Regions from separate parts of the Homo sapiens genome. Here region 1 is linked to region 2. The links are contacts of gene promoters, found by promoter capture Hi-C in blood cells and fetal thymus (Javierre and others, 2016). All regions are on one chromosome and are shown on one strand. The core of a region is centred on a gene start or on the middle of the fragment in contact, and the rest is flanking DNA. Distances in the headings are between cores, read along the strand shown. Region 1 overlaps TBC1D30 (TBC1 domain family member 30). Region 2 holds the start of HMGA2-AS1 (HMGA2 antisense RNA 1).

Evidence for each region. Contacts are between HindIII fragments. The CHiCAGO score rates a contact against its expected background, and 5 or more counts as called.
Region 1: a contact is called between a fragment that was not itself captured here and the fragment with the promoter of HMGA2-AS1 in region 2, in 1 of 17 cell types (naive CD4 T cells). The highest score is 6.0, in naive CD4 T cells.

What each region holds. Positions count from the first base shown.
Region 1 is chr12:64,871,448-64,876,916 of GRCh38, reverse strand. TBC1D30 (TBC1 domain family member 30) reads right to left here. Exons shown (of 12, transcript NM_015279.2): 12 at 1-1,916. The coding sequence ends at 1,129. Among named protein-coding and RNA genes, the nearest start is that of LINC02389, 9.6 kb to the left of the region's middle. RefSeq lists enhancers at 3,971-4,070, 4,101-4,180. The HindIII fragment of the contact is 2,727 bases long and covers 2,833-5,469 here.
Region 2 is chr12:65,878,186-65,884,336 of GRCh38, reverse strand. HMGA2-AS1 (HMGA2 antisense RNA 1) reads left to right here and starts at 2,012. Exons shown (of 3, transcript NR_158985.1): 1 at 2,012-2,619. All of the region lies in intron 3 of HMGA2 (high mobility group AT-hook 2), which reads right to left. The HindIII fragment of the contact is 6,963 bases long and covers 1-6,150 here.

The sequences.
Region 1 (5,469 bases), core at 2,947-5,446, 1.0 Mb after region 2:
ACTTCACCTCTGTGTGGCTCAGAGTTCCCATCTGCATAGTGGAGACAAGAGGTGCTATCCCTGACCCGCTGGGTGAGAGAGAGCTAGAAAGGGCAGGAGTGAGAGGGAGCTAGAAAGCACTGGGGCCTTCTCCAGAGAAAGGCAGTGTTCAATTAACAAAGTACTCAACAAAGGACTCCAATCAAAAAGCACAAAATTCAAGTAACAGAGTCACAGGTGCTGTGTTCTGGCTTCTGAGCAGAGGCCTTGTGCGTCTGCAGTCTAGAGCTGGTGGGTGAGTGAGCTGTGTGGTGGGGGATGCAGGCCAGGCTCCGCATGGAGCCCATCAAGTCATCCGTACCACTGAGGATCAAAGCTCTCCTTGAGAGGCGAACACAAACCTCAGGAAAAGCTCAGTGGCGCGAGCAAGCTGTCCGGAGCAACTGCGTAAAGCATATGCCAAGTGTGTCCTGTGCATAAGATCTTCAGCTGGGTTATCGATTGAAATTTCAACAGATGAAAGGTTTTCTTCATTTTGCAGGTAGAAATAGACAGTTAAAGAAAGGCTATCTAGATTTTTCTCCTATGATTTAGCATAAGAATAAAAAAAAAATTTGAAACTGGTACTGTGGGAAATCTCACACGACACAATCCCCTCCGTAAAGCATGAAAAGGAAAATCAGGAAGTTTTTTGTAACGAAGAAACTTACTTTCTTTTTACAGTTTCTGTCCTAGCAAGCTGGTATGTGCATGCTTGAGTATTAGTAACACCCAGAGAACTGGAAGGTTTGGGGGTGCTGTCACAGGGACTCTGAAGGCCCCCAGAACAGAAGGATGGACGAGAGTTAACAATCTAGATATAGTCTTTTTTAAACAGCTCACAATGAAAAATTGGGAAAACTTCACACTATAAAACCACAATATTTATTTTGCCACAAGAATCCACTTCGTCAGTTAGCAAGTAGCTGGGAAAACAGCCCTGTTCTAACTCCTATTATAAAACTTCCAGTTCCCATTTTTTATGGGCTGTTGCTCATCCCTGAACCTATTCATTTTCACTGGACAAATAAAACTCTTTTAGAGCCATTCAGCTGCAACCCTTATACTACTGTGAAAAGGTGAGTCCAGATACAAAGTTTCGGGGAGACATCATCGTTTTTTAGTGCCACTGTTTCCACCGCCGGGTTTGCTGAAGCTCCTACTCATTTGAGGAAAGTGCACAGTTGGGGTTCTTTCTGTAGGGCCATATAATCCCAAGTTCCTGGCAGTAGCAGATTTCCGCAGGGGCTTGACGCTGGGAAAAGGGCTAAAGATGGGGGTTTTTGAGTTGCTGCCTTGGGGAGCTTTGCTGGTGGCTTTGTTTTCTTCGGGTGCACTCGGCGGCTCTGGGCAGTGCCGCTGGCAGGGTGGGTGCACCCTGAGCTCAGTTTCAGCTGCAGCATCCCTCTGGTTCAGTTCCAGGGCTCCCAACTTCGCCTGAACTGCAGACACATCCACATCAGCATCTCCGAACACCGGCTCCGGAGACTGCCCCTCGATCGTCCTCCTGGTACTGCCTTCAGGGCTGCTGCCTTCTCTCCCAGCTGTCGCTGTACAACCAGAGGGGAATGCCTCTGCTGCCCCCAGCCCATTGGTCTTGCTGGCCTCGTTCTGCTCATCTATCAGCCCTACGGTGTCCCCACAGCCCGGATGACTCTTGGTCCTTGGCATGTTCTTTTTGTGGACTCGGATGTGAGTTCGCCACGGGGAGTTGAGCTTCGTCTTAAGGTCTTCGTAGGGGACAGGAGATATTTTCCCTCCTGTGTGACCAGGGATGTGGATGACAGCATTCTTGGCAGCTCTGTTAGTCATTTTCATCTTCTTTCCTAAAAGAAGGTGGTTTATAACTGGAGAACTGTTTACCTGAGACGGGAGAATGCTGGTCACTGGCCCTTTGTCTGAAAGAAATGTTGAAAGGTAGTATGAAGTGTACCACAAAGAAACACATCCATCTTGGAACAGAAATCACTTAGAGGTCCTCCCAGCCCCGTCTACCACATCCCTTCCCATGTGTTCCCCAGGGAGGGGCAGAGTCATGTGACTGAAGACAGCAGAAACTGAATTCAACCGAAGAGCCTGGAATACCAATGCGCTCTTCTTTAAAGAGGAAGGGACCACAGGGTGATGATACAAAAAGGAACATCTGACCCCTCATTCCTAATCAGAGCCTGGACTCCCTAATTTTTTTTTTTACAGAGAGCTCTTGGCTCTGAGTAGCAACCTCTGAGTTACTGTACTTAGAAAAATCTTTGCAGATTTAAAAAAAATAATACAACAAACACTATGACCATATGGATTATCATCTGTCAGCCTCTGAGAGGTAGGAAAAGAACACACTGCATATTATGAAGTGAGATCCAGCAGAATGACAGAAGTGATAAAAAGGTAGTGAGAATGCAGTGAAATCACAGCTATCCAGCATCTAGCCCTACAGGTGAAAAACCACTCCTGTGTCCTCAATGGACTTCGAAAGCCAATTGAAAACTGAAAAGCACCAAAAGCTTTGTCCTCAGCTAGGTGCCGTGGTTCATGCCTGTAATTCCAGCATTTTGGGAGGCCAAGGCAGGAGGATCACTTGAGGCCAGGAGTTCGAGACCAGCCTGGCCAACATGGTGAAACCCTGTCTCTACTAAAAATACAAAAATTAGCCAGGTGTGATGGTGCATGCCTGTAGTCCCAGCTACTTGGGAGGCTGAGGCAGGAGATTGCTTGAACCCGGAAGGTGAAGGTTGCAGTGAGCTGACATTGCGCCACTGCATTCCAGCCTGGGCAATACAGTGAGACTCCTTCTCAAAACAAACGAACAAAAAAGCTTTGTTCTCCTAGAAGGCACTGTCGATGGCATTATCATTGACCACCTGCGGCTATGACCAGACTCCTATTTCCAATGCAGCATTCAACACACATGGTCCCAGGATGGCAGCTGCAGACAGAAATTGTAGGGAGAAGGCCTCTCCCTCTGTGTGCGAGTTTCCTTCTTCCTTGATGTCCATGTCATCTGGCTGAACTAATTTCCACCCTTCTCTACTGTTGTCATTTACCACTGGTCATACCCCAGTATCAACTAAAAATGTTGATAACTGTCTCCTCTTCACCACATTCCTGCCACCTCCCCAATTATTTGACTGTCACTGTGATTGGCCCTCCATTACATTCTCATAGTTCCTCAACCTCTCCAGTTCCATCCTAAACATTATCACCCAGCTCTACCTTATGTGAAAATATTTAATTCTAATACTCCTCATTTTGGCTCTTCTAGCTCTCAGGCTCTCAGTCTAACTATATGTGGTAATGAACCACAGAGACTTCTGGCTCCTTGTTCCTCAGGCTCCTCACAACCCCTCATGTGTCTTCGGCTCACTGACACCCCTACCCTGCCAGATGCATGGCTGACCGCTTAGATCACTCCCTCACAGGCATCCCTGTCTCTTTGTCACACATTGCTAGTAAAGCCCCAACCTAGGGTCCATGATCTACATTCTCTTTTCTGAAACTGAGCCCTTTAAATTCATGACCTCCCATTTCACTGGGTCCTCAATGCCAAACAATCTTTTCATTTCCCTTTCTCGCTCCCTTCAGTGACCTAACTAAATCTTCATTACTTTCTTTAACCTCTCATTTACTCCCAATCCCCACCAAACAACTTTCCCCCAATTACTCCATGAAAACAAAAGCTATCAGATCTGAAAGGCCTCTATTTCCCATCCTCCCTAACTTCGGAAGCTGATACCTCAACCACCATACTCACCACCTTCCACTAAGTCTCAGAAGCTAAGGTCTTTTTGCCTCTAGTTCAAGTTCAATCTCTCCACCTGTGCTGCTAATCCTATCATATACCATCTCATCTAAAACCATGCTACTCAAACCATGGTTTCTGATATGGTTTGGCCATATCCCCACCCAAATCTCATCTTGTAGCTCCCATAATTCCCACGTGTTGTAGGAGGGACCCAGTAAGAGATAATTGAATCATGGGGGTAGGTCTTTCCCGTGCTGTTCTCATGATAGTGCAGAAGTCTCACAAGATCTGATAGTTTTAAAAATGGGAGTTTCCCTGCACAAGTTCTCTTTGCCTGCTGCCATCCACGTAAGATGTGACTTGTTCCTCCTTGCCTTCCACCATGATTGTGAGGCCTCCCCAGCCATGTGAAACTGTAAGTCCATTAAGCCTCTTATAAATTGCCTAGTCTCAGGTATGTCTTTATTTGCAGTGTGAAAACAGACTAATACAGTCCCCATGCAGCAGCACCAGCAGTGCCTACGGGCTTGTTAGAAACATATAATTTCAGCTCCATTCCAAACCTACTGAAACAGAGTGAATATTTTAGCAGATCCCCAAATGATCTGTATGCACACTAAATTTCAAGAACCAAAGCTCTAGAGCTTTGCCTTTGAGCAGCAATCTCTCCCTTAAAGAGAACCACCATCAACCATGATCTGAAGAAGGGGTCAGCAAACTTTTCCTGTAAAGGACCAGACTGTAAATATTTTAGCCACTGTAGTGTGAAAGGAGCCTTAGACAACCTGTAAACAAATGGGCATGCCTGTGTTCCAATAAAACTGTATTTACAGGCCAGGTGCGGTGGCCCACTCCTGTAATCCCAGCACTTTGGGAGGCCAAGGTGGGCAGATCACCTGAGGTCAGAAGTTCAAGACCAGCCTGGCCAACATGGTGAAATCCCGTCTCTACTAAAAATACAAGAATCAGCCAGGCATGGTGGTGCATGCCTGTAATCCCAGCTACTTGGGAGGCCGAGGCACAAGAATTGCTTGAACTTGGGAAGTGGAGGTTACAGTGAGCTGAGATTGCACCACTGCACTCCAGCCTGAATGACAGAGTAAGACTCCATCTCAAAACAAACAAACAAACAAAAAACTGTATTTACAAAAACAGGTAGTGAGCAGGATTTGGCCTACAGACCACAGTTTGCTGATCCCTGATGAAGGTACAAACCACTGGGCCGATTTAGCACCCTGAGCAATTGTTTACCGTCACACCCAAAGACTTGTACAGTGTAGTTAAAAAGGGACTGTACAAAGAATCAGAACACCTGTGTTCTAGCCCTGGCCTGACCACTCACTATAGCTATATAACCCTGGACAATTGCTAAGCCTTCCTGAATCACCATTTCCTCACTATTTGGAAGAAGATGGGACTATCTGTCCTTGCCTTCCTCATAGATTTGTTTTAAGGACAAAATGAGGAAATGTATGTGCCAATGTTTTTGAAACTTAAAGTGAAATTGTTCAGTTATTTTGTGACTGGTTTCTTAATGACTCAGGATAAAGTGAGAATCATCAAGAAGTCAACTATTCTTCTCTGATAAATGGAAGGTAAATTCAGTTTTTGTGCAGGATCAGTCACATGCTCACATGCCACTTTAAAAACATGTCAAATTTATATTTCAGTTAATTCTGGACAGGCACCATTTTCATTAAGATATTCACTTC
Region 2 (6,151 bases), core at 763-3,262:
CTTATACTTACCTCTTCAGCATCTCTAATCTGGAAATCTGAAATCCAAAATGTTCTTATGAGCAGTTCATTCAAATATCATGTAACTGCTCAAAAAGTTTTGGATTTTGGAAGATTTCAGATTTCAGGTTTTCAAATTAGGGATATTCAATCTGTATATAAAAAATATGAGAGCCAGATACGGTGGCTCACACCTGTAATCCCAGCACTTTGGGAGGCCGAGGTGGGTGGATCACTTGAGGTCAGGAGTTCAAGACCAACCTGGCCAACATGGCAAAATCTCATCTCTACTAAAAACACAAAAATTAGCTGGGCGTGGTGGTGCGCGCCTGTAATCCCAGTTACCCGGGAGGCTGAGGCAAGAGAATTGCTTGAACCTGGGAGGTTGGAGGTTGCAGTGAGCTGAGATTGGGCCACCGTACTCTAGCCTGGGCGACAGAGTGAGACTGCGTCTCAAACTAACAAACCGAACCACGAGATTATTTTTCCCAGTTTTCAATTGTGTCCTGAACTCTCTATCTTAAACAATGCATAGGTATGAAAATAACAACTGGTACATTGATTTTAATAGGGGAGAATTTATTTGGAAAGCAAGAATGTTTATTGTAAACTGTGCCTCTTTCTGGAAATATTTACAATTTTCAAAGAAGTGGCCTTAGCAAAACTGTTAGTACAGCCCTTGATTTGCAGGTGAAAAAAAAGCAGTGCATAGACATTAACCTAAATTCAAGTTAGGATTAAGGTCAACATTAAGGGGTAAGCAGGACATAGCACAGTGACTAAGTGCATAGGAGCATTTATTAGCTGAGTGATCTTGAACAAGTTATTTAACTTCTCTCTAAGTCTCACTTTCCTCATCACAAAAGGAAGAAATATTTCATAAGGTTGTTGTGGAAACTGAGGTAATATATAGACAGTACTTTGCACAATACCAGACACCCAGTAAGGGCTCAAGAAATGGTATTGTTGTTATCCTTATCTTTAACAAGTGATTCACAACCAGTTAGTGTCAGAACAGGATGCAAAGCACTTTTGGAGTATCTGTTGCTATAAACCGAGTTCCTTATCCTTTGCATCTATCTGGGTCTAAGGAGGCAAGATCACATAGCATTAACATTTTCCACAAATGTGGTGTGATCCATCGCCTTTCCTCTTCTTTCACCCCTAGAGTAAGCCTTCAGCCTCTTAGGAAGTGTTTTCCATCAGAATTTAGCTTTGAAGTTGAACATTTTAAACTCTGTTGGGAAGGTTCAGACGCACATTGACAAAGAAGATAAACAAAGAGTCAGGAAATCTAAACGGGGAAGATGCCATGGCTCACATTACCTGCTTCCTCCTAGTTGGAGTTGAGCTCTTCCTGGAAGCGGGGCAGAGTCTGCCATTTGATTAAACAATTCAACATCAAAGCTGAACAAAAACATATAATCAATCTGATCTTAATTCAAGTGTGCCTACCCCTCCTTGTGAAAAGCAGCCTTGTTTTAAAAAATATTTCCCTAGCAGATCAGGTATTTTTGAACAACTCCCTATCGTTTCTGCTTCACTTCCATCTCAAGTTCTGGTTCACATAACTAGCCAACATTTACTGAGGGCCCATTAAGTGGCCAGGCATTGTGCCAAGTGCTTTGTTTATGCTTTCTCATTTAATTGTCACAACAACCCTTAGAGGTATTTTCTCATCCCCATTTTACAGATGAGATGGAGGCTGGGGAGAGTAAGTCACTTGTCCAGGGTTACACTATTAAGAGCTGAGCGATTAAAACCAAACAGCAGTGGGGACAGGCCCTCAGGAGACATTTCTACTCCTGGCTTGGTCACTGCTCAGATACGTCACATGTCTTCTAGGCCTCAGTTTCCCGGCTTGGAGAGGATGCAGCCTCTCTAGAAGTTCCCTTCCACAGCCTGCGGCAGCTTCCCAGGGCGGGCGGGCTGCTTTGTTTCCACACTCAGCTGCTGTGGCTGGGGCCTCCCTGGGCTCTGCCCTGTTTTGTTTTTGCTGCTGGACCTGCTACAGACGCAACCCTGGCAGCGCAGCCCGGAGCACAGCCGAGGCTTCCTCTTTCTCTCAGTTCCTGGCTGCTTCAGTATGAACAGAAAAGGTGGGCAGGGGCCAACTGGCAGGAGCCTCCGAAATAGCAGCACATGATCCTCCTACCAGCAGCAGAAAGGCCAGCCCGCAAGACCTCGCCGCCTGCCCAGCTCTGTCATTGACTAAGGTTGCTTTTGTCAGTACAGCCGCCAGGGGTTTCCACGCTCATTCCCCTCCGGACAAGGTGGACAGCTTTGGTGATAGACAACTGGGAGGTAAAACTCCACAGAGCCATGCCAGCGACTGACCGCCCAGGGACAGGAGATGGAGACGTTCAGCTGCAAAGGCTACGGAGGAACCCCCGCAATTGGAATCTCTCCATGCCTTCTGCAGCATGGAAACATACTCCGGGACCTACCGGGGCTCTCTCGGGCCACCTCTGAGTGCAAGGGAAAAGAGTGCAGTTCAAGGAAGGGAATGTGTCTGTCATCCCACCACTTGCGCGCAAGGCCAGTTCCGGGATCAGCAGGCTTCCTTCACCAGCACGGGCTCTTCATTAGCAACCACTGGGAGGGAATGTGTGCGGAGTCAGTGAGTGAAGCTCTCCTTCAGCAATTTCTCTCCTCCTCTCATATTTCTCCCCTCTCTCTCTCTCTTTCTCCCTCCCTCCCTCCCTCCCTCCTTCGCTCCCTCTGGGTCCAGGACAATACTCAGGCCAGGACAGTTCCAGTCATAACTGGATCTTTCCATTACTTGGTAGCACACAGGAGGATTTGTTGGAGTGGTTTTTTGTTTTGTTTTGTTCTGCTACTATTAAGCAAGATTGCTTCATAATCCTTTAAGGGTTTTTTTTAGCCAAGTCTTATTTACATATCCTGGCCAGCAAGCACGTGATTAACCCAAGGATGTTGGAGGGAAGGCAGATGCTACATCTGAAAAAAATCTGATTATGTTTCATTCTGGAGATACAAACAGCCGAGCTGTCAAAAGGACAACAGTCTCTTGGGCCAACATGACACCAAACTCTCAAACTCTGGAGACCCTCAGAGACAAGGAGGAGGAGCTGCTGAGGTAGGGGCACAGATGCGAGGAGTTCTTCTCCCTCTCTCCTTCTCTTTCACTATCTCCACTTTGGGGGCAAAGTGTCAGGATAGCCAGAGGTACACATAATCTAATACATGGAAATGGTGGTAAACTGCCTGTCAATTCACCGCACCACCATAATATGTCTAAAATGTGGTGCCTGTCTACAACTTACATGCCACCCAGAAAACAAGCTGCACTGGCATTTCTGCATTGACAGAAAGGACATTTGAAAATTTTCCCTACAGGCATTATTTCAACTGATATTTACGAGTGGTTTTATGGGATAGAATCGTGCCAGTCATATCAAGGAACTTTTCATATCTTTCAACCCATGCTAAGATAAATAGAGCCAGTTATGATTATTCTCATTTCTTGAAAGGTACCTAATGATCCACCAGAAAGTTAAATGAATCCTCACTTATCAGAGGAATTTTTTTTTTAAGTAAAAGAAACCTAAACCCCAAGACCTAGACTCCTGGAATAAGAATCTCTTTACCAGTGAAAATTCTTAAACATTAAATAAGCATTTACCGGGAGATATCGATGAGGTCTTAACTGTACATTGTCTGATTCTGAGGCAAAACATACAAATACAAACACTGAACTAGTACTTCTAACTCATCCTTCCATGCTACCTGCTGTGTGACCTTAAGCAAGTCATTTATCTTCCCTAAGTATACATTTTGTTATCTTTAATATACAGGGACTGTGTTTGAGGTCTCTAATTTCCCATATAGCTCTAAAATGAAATATTTGTTTAATGAAAGAATCTATTAACATTGTCAACAGCAGTTTTTATTTTAATCTTTAAATACAAAGGGCAACACGTGTTTCATGGCACAAAAATCCTTCATTGCCATAACCTCTGAGAGAAATATTTTTGCAAAGTTTTCTTGCTCTTCTTGGGAAAAAACAATCATGCCATTAGGTTCTGTGAGTGAGGAGATGCCAGTGATACAGGATGAGGGATAGAGGTTTTATTTATTTGCTTTGACCTGAAATGCTTTCAAAGTGCTAGGATTTTCCCCGTGAAAAATGCTTTGCTTCTAATATTATCTCCAGTGATCAAGAGTTAGTGTCAAAGGTTTGTGAATGGATTTCAGAATGTGCAAGTGGCACCTCCCATCGTTAGCTGTCTACATTTTTTTATAACCACTTGCATACTTTTGGTCAACCACTGTAAAATAAACAGTCCTTCTCAAATGTTTTTGTTTTCTTTGACAGCACAGCAATAATTCACTTGGAATGCTGCAGAATAGAATAGCACTTTAATGCTGTTGTAAGGATGGCTTTTATGATTTCTATTCATCGAGTTGTTTTTAAGTTAAAAGATACCAGACTGAAAAGAACATAAATCCCTGTGGAGATATGTTATGCTTAGATCTTTGCACCCTGTTCCCACCCAAGGATATATACATAGAATATATGTATAAACACACATCCACATATGCATAAATATATGTGTACATATACGCTCAATATAGACATTTAACACAACATTCACCTAAAGTGTTTACTGTTTTTGTTTTTGTACTTTTGTTTTAAATTTGAGAAGTATAGCATCTAGATTATAGTAGAGTTTTGTGTTCATGCAAATGAAGATGTAAATTAATGTTTATTCCTACCTAGAAAAGTTTCAGGAAAAAAATGTCATAACACACTTTTGCTTACTTGGTACATACTCTTGTTCTCTTTTTTCTGGCCATGCACTTACTAAATATGAAGTTTAGAAGAAAAAAACTTTATATATAGTTTGTTTCAAATTTGATATATTTTAGTTAAAAGTGCTTTATTGCCAGGCATGGTGGCTCACACCTGTAATCCCAGCACTTTGCGGGGGCCAAGGTGGGTGGATTGCTTGAGCCCAGGAATTCGAGACCAGCCTGGGCAACATGGCGAAGCCCCATCACTACCAAAAAAAAAAAAAAAATAGCTGGTATGGTGGCACATGCCTGTAGTCCCAGCTACTTGGGAGGCTGAGAAGGGAGGACCACCAGAGCCTGGGAAATCAAGGCAGCAGTGAGCCGTGATCATGCCACTGCACTCCCGCCTGGGCGACAGAGCTAGACACTGTCTCAAAAATAAAAAAAAGTCTTTATTTTTTTTCTTTCAGGGGAATGGTTGATTACTGTCTCAGATGTACATACCAGAATTAAGTTTATACCTATGTGTCAAAAATGGAAGGATGAAAATTGACTTGAGAAACTGCACAGTTTCTGTGCAACATTATATAGGATATCTTTACAAAGGACAACATTCGAAGCAAGAAATTGGAGCTTAGGCAGTATTACACTTTCTATCTTACCTATACTACTCTCTGAGAAACCCATTTCTAGCCTGTACAGCATAGCTTGTAAACTGTGATCTTCGACTAGTATGAATAAGTCTTGTGTTGAGTTTAATTTCAGAGGCCGGGAGTTTATCAGCTGAGCCATCTCACCTGCATTCCTTGCAAGTCATTAGAGCCTTAGATGCCTGGCTTGGCTTTGGGCTTCTCCAGCAGAGAGCAGTGAAACACTGTCAATAAACCTAATTCTGGAAACCAGAGTAGATTCCAAGTTGGGAAAAAAGCAAAGGCAGAACTAGCAGGCTCATCAGAGTTATAAAGAAACTGGGGAAACTGGGCTTGTAGATTTTTTAAAACAGATATGTGTTGAAACTTTGATGTCAATATTAATGGCAATACACATATTTAGATATTTAAATGTTATTCAAAATATCACTTCATAGCAAGGTAGATGACCCAAAAGAAAAAGTGTGCGCTTTCCAAAATTTGCTTCTTATTTTAATCCTGCAATTGCTATACAGTTACACGTTTATTAGCTTTACTATTACACATGTATTAGGTCATTTCCATTTGCATTCAGTGTTAGAACAATGTCAGCTCTTCAATCCCAATCTCTGGCTACCTAGCTTGGCAGTTCTTCAAGCATCCCTTGTTTACAGGGACCACTTGGAAAGTCAAGTATGTTATAACAAGTTTATGCATCCTCATTCTACAAGAAACGTTGTTGCAGAGAACCATTTTAAGAAGCTT